2 separate regions of the Homo sapiens genome follow, and region 2 is linked to region 1. The links are contacts of gene promoters, found by promoter capture Hi-C in human tissues and cell types (Jung and others, 2019). All regions are on one chromosome and are shown on one strand. Each heading gives the region's core, a stretch centred on a gene start or on the middle of the fragment in contact. The rest is flanking DNA. Distances are from core to core; before and after follow the strand shown.

The links. The method cuts DNA at HindIII sites, captures the fragments that hold promoters and counts their contacts. A contact is called where the count stands out against the background at its distance.
Region 2: a fragment that was not itself captured here is called in contact with the fragment with the promoter of INSL4 in region 1 in 1 of the 25 tissues and cell types used here (small bowel).

Annotation. Positions count from the first base shown.
Region 1 is chr9:5,227,792-5,234,713 of GRCh38, reverse strand. It overlaps INSL4 (insulin like 4), which reads right to left and starts at 3,295. Exons shown (of 2, transcript NM_002195.2): 1 at 2,995-3,295; 2 at 1-1,060. The coding sequence starts at 3,190. The coding sequence ends at 837. RefSeq lists a promoter at 3,201-4,018. The HindIII fragment of the contact is 9,700 bases long and covers 1-6,196 here.
Region 2 is chr9:5,581,763-5,589,425 of GRCh38, reverse strand. The region is part of intron 1 of INCR1 (interferon stimulated noncoding RNA 1); the gene reads left to right. Among named protein-coding and RNA genes, the nearest start is that of RIC1, 44 kb to the left of the region's middle. The HindIII fragment of the contact is 5,555 bases long and covers 1-4,223 here.

The DNA of each region.
Region 1 (6,922 bases), core at 2,046-4,545:
CTTTGATTTAGGATTTAGAGACACATAGGGAGGAGGTATGTGTAGCCAGAGGAATGCCAGTATTTGTGCCAATTCACCACTTTGATGAGGGGATGTGGAGTAATGCCAGGGACAAAAGAGGAGTTTATAGAATGATTGAAGGTCTAAAGGCAGCGTGCTGAGAGGCAGGTGGAGGATATGCATTGGGCAAAGTTCTAGGGAGGTCTCTGGGTTTACCCTAGGGTGAACATGCCTAATACCTCTCCCACCAGTTCATTCCTTCACTGCTTTTCCTCCGTACTATGAGCTGATGTTAGAGATGGTTAGATCCTTTATCTCTTACATTTCTTCTAGTGTGAAAAGAGGAAAAATGAAGAGACTTGAGTGAGTGTGTGTGAACGTATGTGTTTATGTGTGTAAAACTTTAAAAATTTATTTCCAGTAAGTTTGTAGTTCACATATTACAGTTATACACATTTTTGTAGTACATGTGATATTTTGATACGTGTATATAATGTGTAATGATCAAATCAGGGTAATTGGGATATGCATCCAAACTAACATTCATCTTTTTTGTGTTGGAATCATTACAATTCTCTTCTAGCTATTTTGGAATATACAGTGAATTATTGTTAAGTATAATTTCCCCATTGTACTATCAACTACTAGAACTTATTCCATCTATCTAACTTCCTCCATTTGGAGAGACTATATTAGTACAGAGCAAGTGAAACATGTGAATACTAATAATGATTCTCATGTTCTAATAAACAGCAATCATTTAATTGGGCATCAGTGAATTTGTCATTGAGAATACATATGAGAATGGATGAGATGTCCAGTCCATGATTACTCTACTATGTACATAATTTAACTGAAGTTCCATCGTCACAAATTACTTCACAACAGAATGGATCAAATCTGTGACGTCCACTTCTCTTTTTGCGGGAAAGTATTATTTTCTTCAATGATGGCTGCCCTTCAGACAGTGGTTTCTTCAGCTCTGGTGACAAATTAGGAATGAATTCTGATGTCGTACCTAAGGCTTGTCCATCTTTGTTGTTGGAGGTTGACACCATTTCTGTGAAGTAAAAGAGAGGAATGAAAGGTGAGGAAAAACATTCATGTGAAAGAGGATCAGAAAAATTATACAATTTGCCTAGACCACAATGTACCCATTGCCTCCATGTAATTAAACACCAGAGAGAATCAGCAAGTATCCTAACATTTCAACAACTTAGCTTACTTAGAGTAGGGCACTTTAAGATACTACAATATTAAGGATATGCTAACTCCTCATCCTGTCCCCTCTATGCACTCTTCTAATGACCCTCTAAATGCCTATACCATACCACTTTTGACTCTCCCTGACACTGTTTTGATTGATAACCTCAATGCATTATGTACTGGATAGCAATAGGGAATTTTTTTTATAATCACAAGTTATTCTAATAGAAAGATTCAGATATTCAAATCTGATCCACATAAATCTATACATCTATATCAGTGGATCTTAGCTAAAAGGCTGAGAAGCAACATACATCTATATGTGTCGACACCAAATGTTAACATTTGTTATCCATGAATACTTTCCATTTTTCTTGTTAAATTTATCTATATTTGTCAAAGTATTTAAATGAGGATTTTCACTTATTTACTGAAAAAAAGTGAAATTTAAATAGAAATTATAGTACAGCATGCTCTTCCTTAGTTTGCATTAGAAATTGTTTGGACTTTGTGGTATTCTTCCCTTATTTTATAGTAAAATGAAACAAGCTCTGACTAATAATGTAAAAAAAGGAAATAACTTTGAAATCGTTATATAAATCACACAAAATCCAAGTGCATTCACTGTGCACGATAACTTTAAACAGAGTCATTTAATGATTTAATGAAGTGTATGCATATGGGTTACAAGAAGCAGTTCTGGAGTCACACATTGCTGGTTCAAAACCTGTGTCATTTGTATTAAATGTAAAACAATGTTTAGTAATTTAACTTAGCTTTTCAGAACTTAATACGACCTATTAGACAGAATATAGTAGCCTCTATCTCTTTTCGAAACTGCCCCTGCTAGTTTTAACTTAGCTGGCAATTTATCTTTATGAATACCTTGTTACTTGGTAAAGTTTGAAAACTATCCTGGTATTGAACTTTCCTCAATTCTGAAATCTTGCTTTTAAAGAAAATGCTTTGCAGTCTCAAATGTTGAAAACACTAATCAAATCAGCTATGATGGTCTGAACAGTGAAATTCCCTTGTCTCTGGTCCCCTTCAATTTCCCCTCTAGTCATCCAGGCCACTTTCTTTCTCTTCATCTCATCTCTCTCAACACACTACAAGAGTAGATTCAAAGAAATGGGAGGCAAGGTGCTCTGTTGGTGTGCATTAAAAAAAACTTTTTTGTAAGAGGACGTTTTTGGTGACATAGACCACTGCCCAGCTTAATGACAAAGGATGAGAGTTATTAAATCTAAGCCCCCTTTATCTCACATTCCAGGAACCTAACAGAGGTCTCAGTGTGCTGCCCCTAGGCCAATAGGTGCATAAACAGAAATGATAATCAGCTCATCACCTCACTGTTTGTCCCCTTTCTTCTTAATTGAAGATGCCTGGCCCAGGCATCTCATTGCAATCACACCTGTTTTCTGGCCTGCCCAGCTTTCCTGGGGGTCTGGGAGTACACCTCACCTCCTGCTGGTGTTTGAGAATAGTCACCTTCTCTGAGGATTCCCTGTTTTCTCCACCCTGTATCTCTGGCTGCCAGGTGGGAAAGGCACCAAGAGCCTCCAAGGTGAGGCTGTTCTTCTGTTTTTCCTGCAGCTTCTCCTCTACCCCCAACTTCCCATGAGATTTCTGGTGAGACCCTTTTAATAAAAGCACATTACAATGAAAAACCACAAACTTGTAGGCACTAGCCACAGTAGAGTCTGAGTTGACTACAGGCAGTCAATGAGATCTGGAGCCTGTTTTTTCAGGCCTCATTCTGATTGTTTGGTAGTCCAGGGCTCTCACCTTTGGGACGTCCAGATTCCAGCAGCCACCCTCCTGGGGTGGTGGTGAATGTCTTCTCAGGCATGGGGCAATATGACAGCAAGTGTTTTCCAAATCGGGGACCACATCCCCTCAGCTCTGCTGCTAGGCTTTCTCTAAGGAGTTGGCTCAGCAGCAGCCAGATTGCTGGCAGATAGGACCGGAACAGGCTGGCCATCCTGGACCTGAACTCTCCTGTTCTGGGTGTTCTCAGCCTTTCTTTAGAGACTTGCTGCTGTAGCCTACCAGACTGTGCTGGTGTGTCCCTTCTGGGCTCCAGACTGCTTTCTGCATGCCTTCATCAGGCATTTATTTGCTTAGGGCTATTACTCAGCTTTTGCGTCAATGGTGTCAGTTCCACCCCTTTCCCACCCACCTACAAGGAACTTTCTCCCTCAGTTCTTATTTAGTCTCCCTACTTGCCCTACCCACACTCTCATATCCCTCTTTGCTCCCAATGTGCTGCTGCACTTTGCTTGTTTTGAATTTGGTTGTTCTACTTCTTTTTCTTAACTTTCCTCCTGTAATACTATTTTTATGCTTACTAAAATAATGGTAATTTTTAATGTCCTTTGCTTAGATGAAATAAAAATAGAACTGACCTGTAAGCTCATTGGCTAGAAATTATCTTAGTTAACATTTGGCATATAAGCTTTTAATTGCGGGGGTCTGTCCCACAGACCCTGACCCAACGACGGATGAATAACATACACTGACACAGATAGTTTGCCTGTCAGTCCAGCTGAGGGTCCGGGCCACCTACAGACACCAAGGAGGGTGCTGTAAAGAGTTGCAGCCGTGGCCCCGATCAGCCAGCAAAGCTCACATTTATTCAGCATAGATTAAATGACGAAGGTCTTGAGTAAACACCACTAGAAGGTAATTGACATTGCCAACCTCCCGAGTAGAGAGCAATTATGCACCCGCGGTTGATCAAAGATTAGTCTTAGGACCACATGAGTAAACAAACTAGATAAACTACATTCATTTGTATCTGTGCCTTAAGCTATTAACTCAAGGTAAGGATTAGGCTGCCTTCAGCCTGATCTATTACTGGAGCTTATACAAACCCCTCCGGCGTTTCAAAAAGGTTTGCGTCTTTTTCTTATAACTATCTGAAAAAATTTTCCCACCAGCCTGACTGAACTCTCACATCTCCCCCCTTTCTGTTCTTTGCATCGGGTTCTGTTGACTTAAGAGTACAGATGTGTGCAGCAACAGGTTTGTTAGGTTTTGCTTTTATTCCGGCTTTGCATCATAGAATTAGCAAATAACGTAAGACAATCATGAGTATAATTAGTAACATTCCTTTCCAGTCAAAGTGTGACCCCCAGGATCGGGGGTATAACCAGGAGAAATGATCTTGCACACCTTTCCATATGGCTGTTTGTTGAGTATGTAGATCTATCATGTGAAGGGATTCTAAAATTTTAGTTTTAAGTTGCTTTACGTCTGCTGTTAAATTGTCATGAAAGTTTCCCCAGAGGTGTTGTTTCACCTCATCCCAACTATGTATTGATTGATTCCAAGGTAAAAATGTGACACAGATATGTTTATGCTCCCAGTCACAGTTTAATTGCTATCAGAATGCTAGGGCATCTTGTCGCTCCCCCACAAATTCCAAGGCAGCCTCGAGGGCTTGCAGACGTGCAAGAATCTCTTGATCTATACCCTGCTGTAAGAGAAGTTCATTAGACACATTTCTGGCCAAATTGTCTACAAAAGCAGCTGTTTGCACTGATTCGGTAGTAGATGCTATAGCCACACTAGCAGTTGCTAGGATGACTATGGCTGAGACTATAAAGGTTATAAGTGTGCCTATAAATCTTTTGGGTCTGACCTGGGATAGGGCACATTCTAAGGTGGCAAAGGAAGAGGAACCTTGCCAATAGTGTGTCAAATTGACGGGTAGGAATGCCTCAGATTGTCTCCTTAATACCATGACACTAGTAGTATTTAAATTAGATATATTGTAATTAGTGGTACATGAGGCAAACAAAGCCTGTCCTTGCACCCGGGTCACAAACATGGAATTTTGGGTTGTAATAGAAATATTAGTTCCCATAAGGAAAACATATGGATGGAGTTGCAAATTAGGGACTGATCAGTGTGATTATGAATAAAGGTTATAGTATAGTTGTTACTGTAATTATGATATGTCCCATGCCAGGTGTCAAGGGAGGTGCTAAGATGTCCCAGGCAACATAAAGTGTCTTGGGGAGGCATCAACTTTACTCGGGGTCTGGGATATCCTATCCTCCCATCGGCCCAAATCATAAGGGAATGGGACGAGGCTATGAAACTGTGATCGATGCCATGATGGATGAGGATATCAGTAAGGCTGCCCTACAAATGGCCACAGGGGCTCCAGTCTAGGATGTTATAATTGCCTAACTGGAGGCTATGAGCTTATTCCCCATGACAGATCTCCCAGCTAAAGTGGAATCCGTTATTTTTCCGGCTTTGTTCTTTAGCACAGGAAGGAATGTTTGGGAAAGCAGACTTGATTTCCGTTTTGAGGCTACCTGCAGCTAAGACTGTTAAGGCACTTCTTTTGCCATGATGTAGCCATAATTGTGTTTCAGTAGGTGCACACTAAGGGTTAGAACATTTATAATTTACACACAATGGGAGGATAGTAGAGTGATCTGTAGTGTTATCTGGCACCTTAGTCCAATGTGTGCCATTATTGAGGAACCCCACTGGGGGTAAATCTATCCCTCCTAGCTAAGCAGTCACGTTATTAAAGGCTGGGAAGGGGTTGTATACCCAAGTGACAGGGCAAAAGAAAAGTGGATCTAAGATATGAGCCCAATAGAGTGTAGACATTGCCACCCTCCCGAGTAGAGAGCAATTATGCACCTGCGGTTGATCAAAGGTTGGTCTTAAGACCACATGTGTAAACAAGCTATTTAGATAAACTACTATACATTCCTTTGTATCTGTGCCCTAAGCTATTAACTCAAGGTAAGGATTAGGCTGCCTCCAGCCTGATCTATTACTGGAGCTTATGCAACACCTCCAGCCTTCCAAGAAGGTTTGCATCTTTTTCTTATAACTATCTTTAAATTTTTCCCACCAGCCTGACTCAACTCCCACATTTAATATTTCTCCTAACTTACTCCGTATTTATTTGTATTTTTTCTTCCAAACATTAAAATATATTGTATTGATTTCTATATTGTCTTGTGTATCTATCCATAGTATTTTGATGAGTGGATGGATCAGTTGTTCATTAGAGAAAGACGACTAGTGATGTTTAAACCAGGTCCTGTGAACACTATTAAAATTCCAATAACATCACTTTAGGCTTGTATAACAATGTTTGAAGTTTACAAGGAACTTTCTTCAAAGGTATGTACTTACATCTGCCCTCCATTGATCCTGAGAAGGATGAGAAACACAGGCATCCTATAGGGTTGACTGTTAAGTCTTGGGAGAGCACCCATGGAGGTTTTTTTTATACTTGGGAGAAATCACATTGTATCTTTCCATGAATTTCTTTCTTTGAACTCCCATGGGTGATTGATTAATTGTTACCAGTTATCTGAATACTTAATTTGAAACTACAATTACTGTCTCTAGAGTCTGGAGCTGGAGGCCACACACACACACACACACACACACACACACACACACACACACACACACCAAAAAAGGCAAGAAAAGAGCAGAAGAATTCAACAGTTTCAGGGAGAACATATTGGTAACACATGTTCATGCACAAAATTGTATACCTTTATGATCAACTTTTGTATACTATGTGTGTTGTAGTTTGTGAAAAGGGTTTTTAAATCACATTTTATTATTTATTTCCTATTCCTTTTTTTTTCAACTTTAAGTTCAGGGGTACATGTGCAGGATGTGCAGGTTCATTACATAGGTAAATGTGTGCCATGGTGGTTTACTG
Region 2 (7,663 bases), core at 197-2,696, 360 kb before region 1:
ATTTGGGCAATAGGCCCAAGAGAACTTAGGGGAAGGATGAATGATAAGTAAGTAAGGCAAGGAAAGGAATGAAAGAACATAGCCTTGGATTGGCAATCTGCAGTCCATTAAAGTCAGCTGGTTCAGGGCATTGTACCCCAGCATGTGAACTAATTTGCATTTTTAATGCCCATCGGCCTGATATCATGGGAATGTGCCCAGCCAATTTGGGAATATCATTCAAACCATCCACAAGGACCATGTATAGCAGAGGTGTCCAGATTTCACCAGCCTTCAGTGGGCCACACTTCTAATTAATGCCCAAATAACTTTCAGCTTCATCCCCTTATGTAACTGTGAGAAGATTAGTCTCTGACTTTTCCCAAAGAATTTCTGGAAATTCCCAGGAATTCTTACCATCTACTAATAGAGCCCCATTAAGAGTCCATCTTGTAATTCCCCAAAACAGAGAACAAGACTATCATTTAACAAAATTTTACTGAAAGAGATGTGGGAAAGAGATTTTACTGAAAGAAAATCATGAGAAGAAATAACAAGGCAGAAAAGAAAAATATAAAACTGGGCCCTGTAGAACATCCCCTACCTTTATCTCATAGGAGGACTATCTCCCCTTTATTCCCTGTCCCTCTACCTTGTGGTAGGGATCAATATTCCTACAGATAACAAGAGTCCATTGACCATGGCTCCCCTTCCCAGACCCCAAGGAAAACAGTCTCAGGGCTGCTCAGTAAATATTTGTTGAATTAATGAATGGTCTTAACCTTCCCATTCCAGATTAAGATCTTGGCTTTATATTTATATGATTGTTAAAATTTTTATTTAGATTTTTTCCCCTCAAACAATCAGTTTCAAATGTAAATTTTGAATCTCCCTTCTATTATACACTTAAAGATCTGTTAAGGGGTAAAAAAAATTTACCTTCCAGATAGGTAATTTTTTTAATTTGGCAACTTGGGAATAGTAGCTTTTCTCTGTCCTTGTACCCAACTTCTTAACTTTAACAATGAAGATTTTATGGGCCCAATGGCCCCAGCCTAAGCTGGTGCACCTTGTTACATAGGGCATTTACTGTTGAGAGCATATTTCTGAGAATCCCAAGATTTTCACTTTTGCATAAAGGCTGACTGAGTAGACTCTGTTATCCTATAATATAGCTTTTAAAACAAATTATTGTACTAGTAGCTAATTGCTCATTAAGATCTAGCTTTATGGGCTAGGCGCAGTGGCTCATGCCTATAATCCGAGCACTTTGGGAGGACGAGACAGGCGGATCACTTGAGGTCAAGAGTTTGAGACCAGCCTGGCCAACACTGTGAAACCCCATATCTACTAAAAATACAAAAATTAGCTGGGCTTGGTGGTGGGTGTCTTTATCCCAGCTACTTGGGAGGCTGAGGCAAGAAAATCGCTTGAGCCTGCAAGGTAGAGGTTGCAGTGAGCCAAGAGCGTGCCACTACACTCCAGCCTGGGCAACACAGTGAGACTCTGTCTCAAAAACAAAAAAAAAAAGATCTGGCTATATTGCTATATACTAACTGTGATAGGTTCTGTAGTTCCTCTCAATAACACTGCCAGGTAAGGTTCGTTATTTTATGTATGAGGAAACTAAGGTTCAAAGAGAACGACTTGTCTGTAGTCATGCAGCTGGTTAATGGCAGAGCTGGATTCAACTCAGGCAAGCTACCTATAGATCTCAGGGCAGGTAGGAAAGGGTTATATTAGACTCAAGTAGGAAGCTTTATGAAATTGCTCCCCACTTCCTGCTTCTCCATGATATTCTGATATGTACCCCAAATGGCTGTGAATCTTTGCAGAAGTCAGTGGTTGTTACTGACCGGAGAGTGAGGAATTATCTTCCATGTTTTGGGGGTGGTAAAAATTCTGAGAACCACCACCACATGTTACTTCTTCCATCTGCCTTCCGCTGCTTGAGGCTTCAAAATAAAGTTGTAAGAAATTCCAGCTCTTTGCCCTTACCAATATAGCCCAGGGTGACTCTTACTTAATTCTGTATATGAGTTCCAGAAAATATAGAACTCTATAGAAAAAAATGTATGGCACTTGGCTGAGATTTTCTGTTGACTTCCCTCCAGTCCTTATAAGATCACTTTTCCCTTACTTGATTGTTGTCCCCCATTGACCAAACCAGCAGGTTCTGGCCACTCCCCTCAGTGACTAAAGCTGTCAGCGTCATTACTAGGGTTAAGGCCCTGTCATGGGCTGCCCCAGCCACACACATATTCCAGCTGCTTTGCCTGTTTTAGTCATCCTGTGACATCTCTTCTTGTTATATAGGATATCATCTATGTAAAAGATGAGAGAGAGAGAGGGCTTCTGTGATCTGCAAACCCTTTGAAGACAAGGCTGATGTTTTACTATCTATCTTGGTGCCTAGTACAGTGCTTAGTACCAAATGAATGATAAAATACATGAGAAAGAACAGGATGGTCTCCTCATGATTGCACTTTCTCAGGATAGGCCTGGACCCTATCTCCATTTCCATAGAAATGGCCCTTTCCCCCAGGTTCTGGTACATGGCCCTGGTTGAGCTAATAAACAGCAACAAAAGAACTTAAAGTCTAAAAATGCTTTGAGGCCTGAAAGAAATTATCTCTGAAGGTGAAGTGTTGAGGTAGAAAGATGGAGAAATGGGGTAAGTGCATGTGCAGGGAAAGGGCAGGGACTTCCCAGCTCACCTCCTGTCATGTCCAGATGCAGCCACATACTTTGCTTACAGTGACTTGTCCTGTGTGGAGGCAATTCTTTGAGGCAAAACTATGCCTTAAAGCCTTAAAGCCCAGCCCAGAATTTCACATCAGCCCTTCTCTAGTCCTGACATTATTCACCAAATAAAAGGCAGATACTTGCTATGTTTTACAAGTTTCTTGTCTGTGTCATCAGCCTTGTTCCATCCTTAGATACAAAGAGGGTTGAAAACAGGATGTTTGAAAACAGGATGTTTGGGTTAAAAAACAGGGTTGAAGAAAAAAAGAATAATATTCAGAAAAGAATGTGGCAAGTGGACATAGTTCTTAAGGAACCCTACAAATGAGATTTGAAAACCTGGCTCATTTCATGATTCATTGACTCAAAGATTTTAAGGACATATTTCAGCTGGTAGAAAAAAGTTCACTTGAGGATAACATCTTGAGAGTCAAGTTGAAGATAAAAGACTCCTGTTTCTGGTATCTCTGTGAAACATAAACGAGGGTACCCTTTAGGACCAAGTACTTCATAGAAAGTTAGAGCTGGAAGGGGATTTACAAGCCATTTCATTTTAGTCTTCTCAGGAAACTGAGGCTCATAGGAGTTAAGTGTCTAGTTTGAAGAATTATGGGATCTTAGAGTAAGAAGATTTGTAATTCATCACCTAAGGGAAGAATACTTTCCAGAGTATCCTGAAAAATGGTAGCTCCAGGCTATGTAGATATATCCAGGAACCAGGAGGTTAACCTTTGATGAACAGCTCTAGTTGTTAGTGAATTCTTTCCATTTCTGGGCCAAATTCTTCTTCAATGTAACTTGCACCCATTGATCTTGGCTCTCATGTCTTCCCTTGATAATTCTTCTCCAGGAGAAATGCGCCCAGCTTCTTCCAATATTCCTAGTCTAGGGGTGGCTTCAAGCCCGATTGCCATCTTGGGTGCTTCCCTCTAGATCTACTCTCATTTATTCATGTCCCAATTAACAAGTCGGGCCCAGAATAGAACAAAATATTCTAGAGGTAGGCTGGCCTAGACATAGTAGGTTCCATAGGACTATTTGTTCCCAGTTCTGAACAGTGTCCTGTCAACACTGCTGAAGTTCTCCTTAGTGTTTTTGTTTTGTTTTGAGACAGGGTCTCACTTTGTTGCCTAGGCTGGAGTGCAGTGGTGAGGTCATGGCCCATTGCAGCTTTGATCTCCTTGGGCTCAGGTGATCCTCCTACCTAAGCCTCCCTAGTATCGGGACTACAAGTGTGCGCCATCACGCCCAGCTAATTTTTGTATTTTTTATAGAGACGCAGTTTCGCCATGTTGCCCAGGCTGGTCTCAAACTCCTGGGCTCAAGTGATCCACCTGCCTTGGCCTCTTAATGGGCTGGGATTATAGGCATGAACCACCATGCCCAACCTCCTTAGTTTTTAAGCAATTGGATTTCAATTCAACCTGCATTTGTACTTAGGGCACATTTGTAGTTTATGAGTATGATACTGTTTAAATTCTTTTCTATTAAATCCCCAGAACTTTTTCATATTAACTGCTAATAAACTGCTCTTCCATCTTAGGTGTGTGGATCAAAAGCAGGACCTTTCATTCTACCTCTTTGGTTTTGACCTCGTGATTCAACCTGGGACTTAATTTTTTTATTTTTTATTTTTATTTTTTGAGGCAGGGCGTCATGCTGTTGTACAGGCTGGAGTGCAGTGGTACAATCTTGGCTCACTGCAGCCTCAACCTCCCGGGCTCAAGCGATCCTCCCACCTCAGCCTCCCAATTAGCAGGGATCACAGGCACACACTACCACACCTGGCTAATCTTTGTATTTTTTGTAGAGATGGAGTTTTGCTATGTTGCCCAGGCTGGTATTGAACTCCTGACCTCAAGTGATCTGCCCGCCTCGGCCTCCTAAAATGCTGAGATTACAGGTGTGAGCCACTGTGGCAACCTGGGATTTTGAAATAGAAACTCTTCTATCCAACTGACTCTCTCTCCCTACTTTATTAATCATCATATATTATAAGCTCATCTTCTATGTTTTCATCCAAGTTACCCATAAGACAGAGGGAAAAAGACAATTTTTTAGTAGTTGCTTTGTCAACCTAACCTCTTCTCTCAACCATATTCACTTACTCACAAGGATATAAATGTACATCTTGTTGTGTGCTGTGATTAAAAATCAATATATTCTATGTCTATGGCAACTCCATGAGCTACCAAACTTGTAACTCCCTAAGCTACCAAACTGGTAACTTTTTTTTTTTCTTTTTGAGACAGGGTCTCATTCTGTTTCCTAGGCTAGAGTGTGGTGGTGTATTCACAACTTACTGCAGCCTCAACCTCCTGGGCTCAGTCGATCCTCCCACCTCAGCCTCCCCAGTAGCTGGGACTGCAGGCGTGCACCATCACACCTGGGTAATTTTTGTATTTTTTGTAGAGATAGGGTTTTGCCATGTTGCCCAGGCTGGTCTTGAACTCCTGAGCTCAAGCCATCTGCCTGCCTCAGCCTCCCAAAGTGCTAGGATTACAAGTGTAAGCCACCATGCCCAGCCCAAACTGGTAACTTTACTGAAAAAGAAATGGGATAAATTAGGCAAGTTACTTAACTTCTATAAGCCCAAGTTTCCTCATCCATAAAATGTGAATATTTGTTCTACTCCCTTTACCAGGTGGTAGTGAGGCTCAACTAGTATAACAAGACATTTGAAAATGCTTTGTAAACTTAAAAAAATTTTTTTTTGAGATGGAGTCTTGCTCTGTCGCCCAGGCTGGAGTGCAGTGGCGTGATCTCAGCTCACTGGAAGTTCCTCCTCCCAGGCTCAAGCAATTCCCCTGCGTCAGCCTCCCAAGTAACTGGTGGGCACTCATCACCACGCCCGGCTAATTTTTGTATTTTTAGTAGAGACGGGGTTTCACCATGTTGGCCAGGCTGGTCTCTAACTCCTGACCTCAAGTGATCTGCCAGCCTCGGCCTCCCAAATTGCATTTTTCTTTCCCTCCCTGCTCTCTTGGGCTACTCCTGTCCATGGGGAGCTCCCACCCACCCTGAATTCCTTTGGGTCTTATGGTCTGGTCCCACTTATCAGTCACTTGATTGCATGTAGCTTTGGTTTTTGTGGTGTATTTCTCCAGCTCACTATACATTCCTCAAACTCAAGGTAGAGCATATCTAATACATACTTTGTATTTCTCACAAGTACACAGTGCTGACTGGGGGTTTCAGAGTCCTAAGACAGAGTCTGAAACACCCTGGGGACTAGATGAGCTGCCTTTATGCCACACAGCCTTGAAAGGGAGGGGACTGTGTCAGGGTAGTCCAGTGAATCACCCTGTCTCATTGATGAGTGTAAGAAAGTAGAGGCTCTGGTCAACCTGGACTTAAACTTTCCATTGTGCTTCTCAGGGGATACAGCTGTAGCCTGCCAGACTGGCATTTTCCCTAACAGCTTTCAAATGTCACATTCCACTATAACATACTCACACACAGAAGCTGTTCTTTCTTTGTCTTCATTTTGAGAACACTCAGAAAAGTTTTTATATTTTGGAAAGACCCCTTTCATTCCCCACCCTTGAGTTTTCTGCCTTCAGGACGTTAGTTCTTGAAGACAACTCCCCAGAGCACTAGTGGAAAGATGCTGGCAGCTCCTCCAATCACATGAACCTCACATGTTCTGACGCAGCTCAGTCATGCATTCTGTGCTGGAGCTGCATGATGTTTGATTAGGCAGGCAGGATGCTGGCAAACCCAGTGCCTTTTCAAACTTTAACTTAGTACACTTTTCTTGTAGTTTCTCTTTAGATTCTCATAAAAACACAGGTGAAAGTTTGTACTTGACATAGGGAAAAAACACAAGTTGTGCATCTAAAAATTCTGCCCCAGAAACATTATATCTGCCATTTATGTGACCTTTTGATTTATAATAAGCAGATGCTGAAATTCTAAAATTTCAAAATATTTTTAAAGAATTGCTTAAAGATTTTTTTTGAATTTAAAATGTTTATTTTTTAAGCTTTTCAAATACAAGAAGAATATAAAGAAAAAAATTACCCATAATCTCATGACATTGACAAAGATAGCCACTGTTATTGCCATTCTAATTTTATAGTTGAGAAAACAAAGGAGAGGAAGAAAGGAAAGAAAATGAGCTTTTAGGGTTTTTTTTCTCAACTTTAAGAAAAAAACTCCTTAGAGGGATCCCCCAAAATTTTGTAAACAATTGACAGATATTCATATTCCTAATAACACATATTGCCAGGAGTACCATTGCTGTTTCTGAACACCATGATGTTTCTTCAGTAAGCTCTACAGAGATCTCATTTCCATGTCACAGAGGAAAACTACTTAAAATAACATTTTATGAAAGTTACTATACTACGTTACAAAACATCTTGTAAAACAGAGAAAAGAAGGAAATTACATACAACCCCAACACTTTAACAAAATCTTATTCATATTTTAGCATACTTCCTTCTGTCCTTTTTTCCCATTCTAAATTTTTTTTAACTTTTATTTTAAGTTCAGGGGTACATGTGCAGGATGTGCAGGTTTGTTACATAGGTAAACGTGTGCCATAGTGGTTTGCTGCACAGATCATCCCATTACCTAATGCCCAGCGTCCATTGGCTATTTTTCCTGATGGTCTCCCTCCTCCTACCCCCGCTTCTGACAGGCCCCAGTGTGTTTTGTTCCCCCCATGTGCTCATGTGTTCCATCATTCAGTTCCCACTTGTAAGTGAGAACATGCAGTGTTTGGTTTTCTGTTCCTGTGTTAGTTTGCTGAGGAGAATGGCTTTCAACTCCATCCATGTCTCTGCAAAGGACATGATCTTGTTCCTTTTTATGGCTGCATAGTATTCCATGGTATATATACACTACATTTTCTTTATCCAGTCTATCACTGATGGGCATTTAGGTTGATTTTATGTCTTTACTATTGTGAATAGTACTGCAGTGAACATACGTG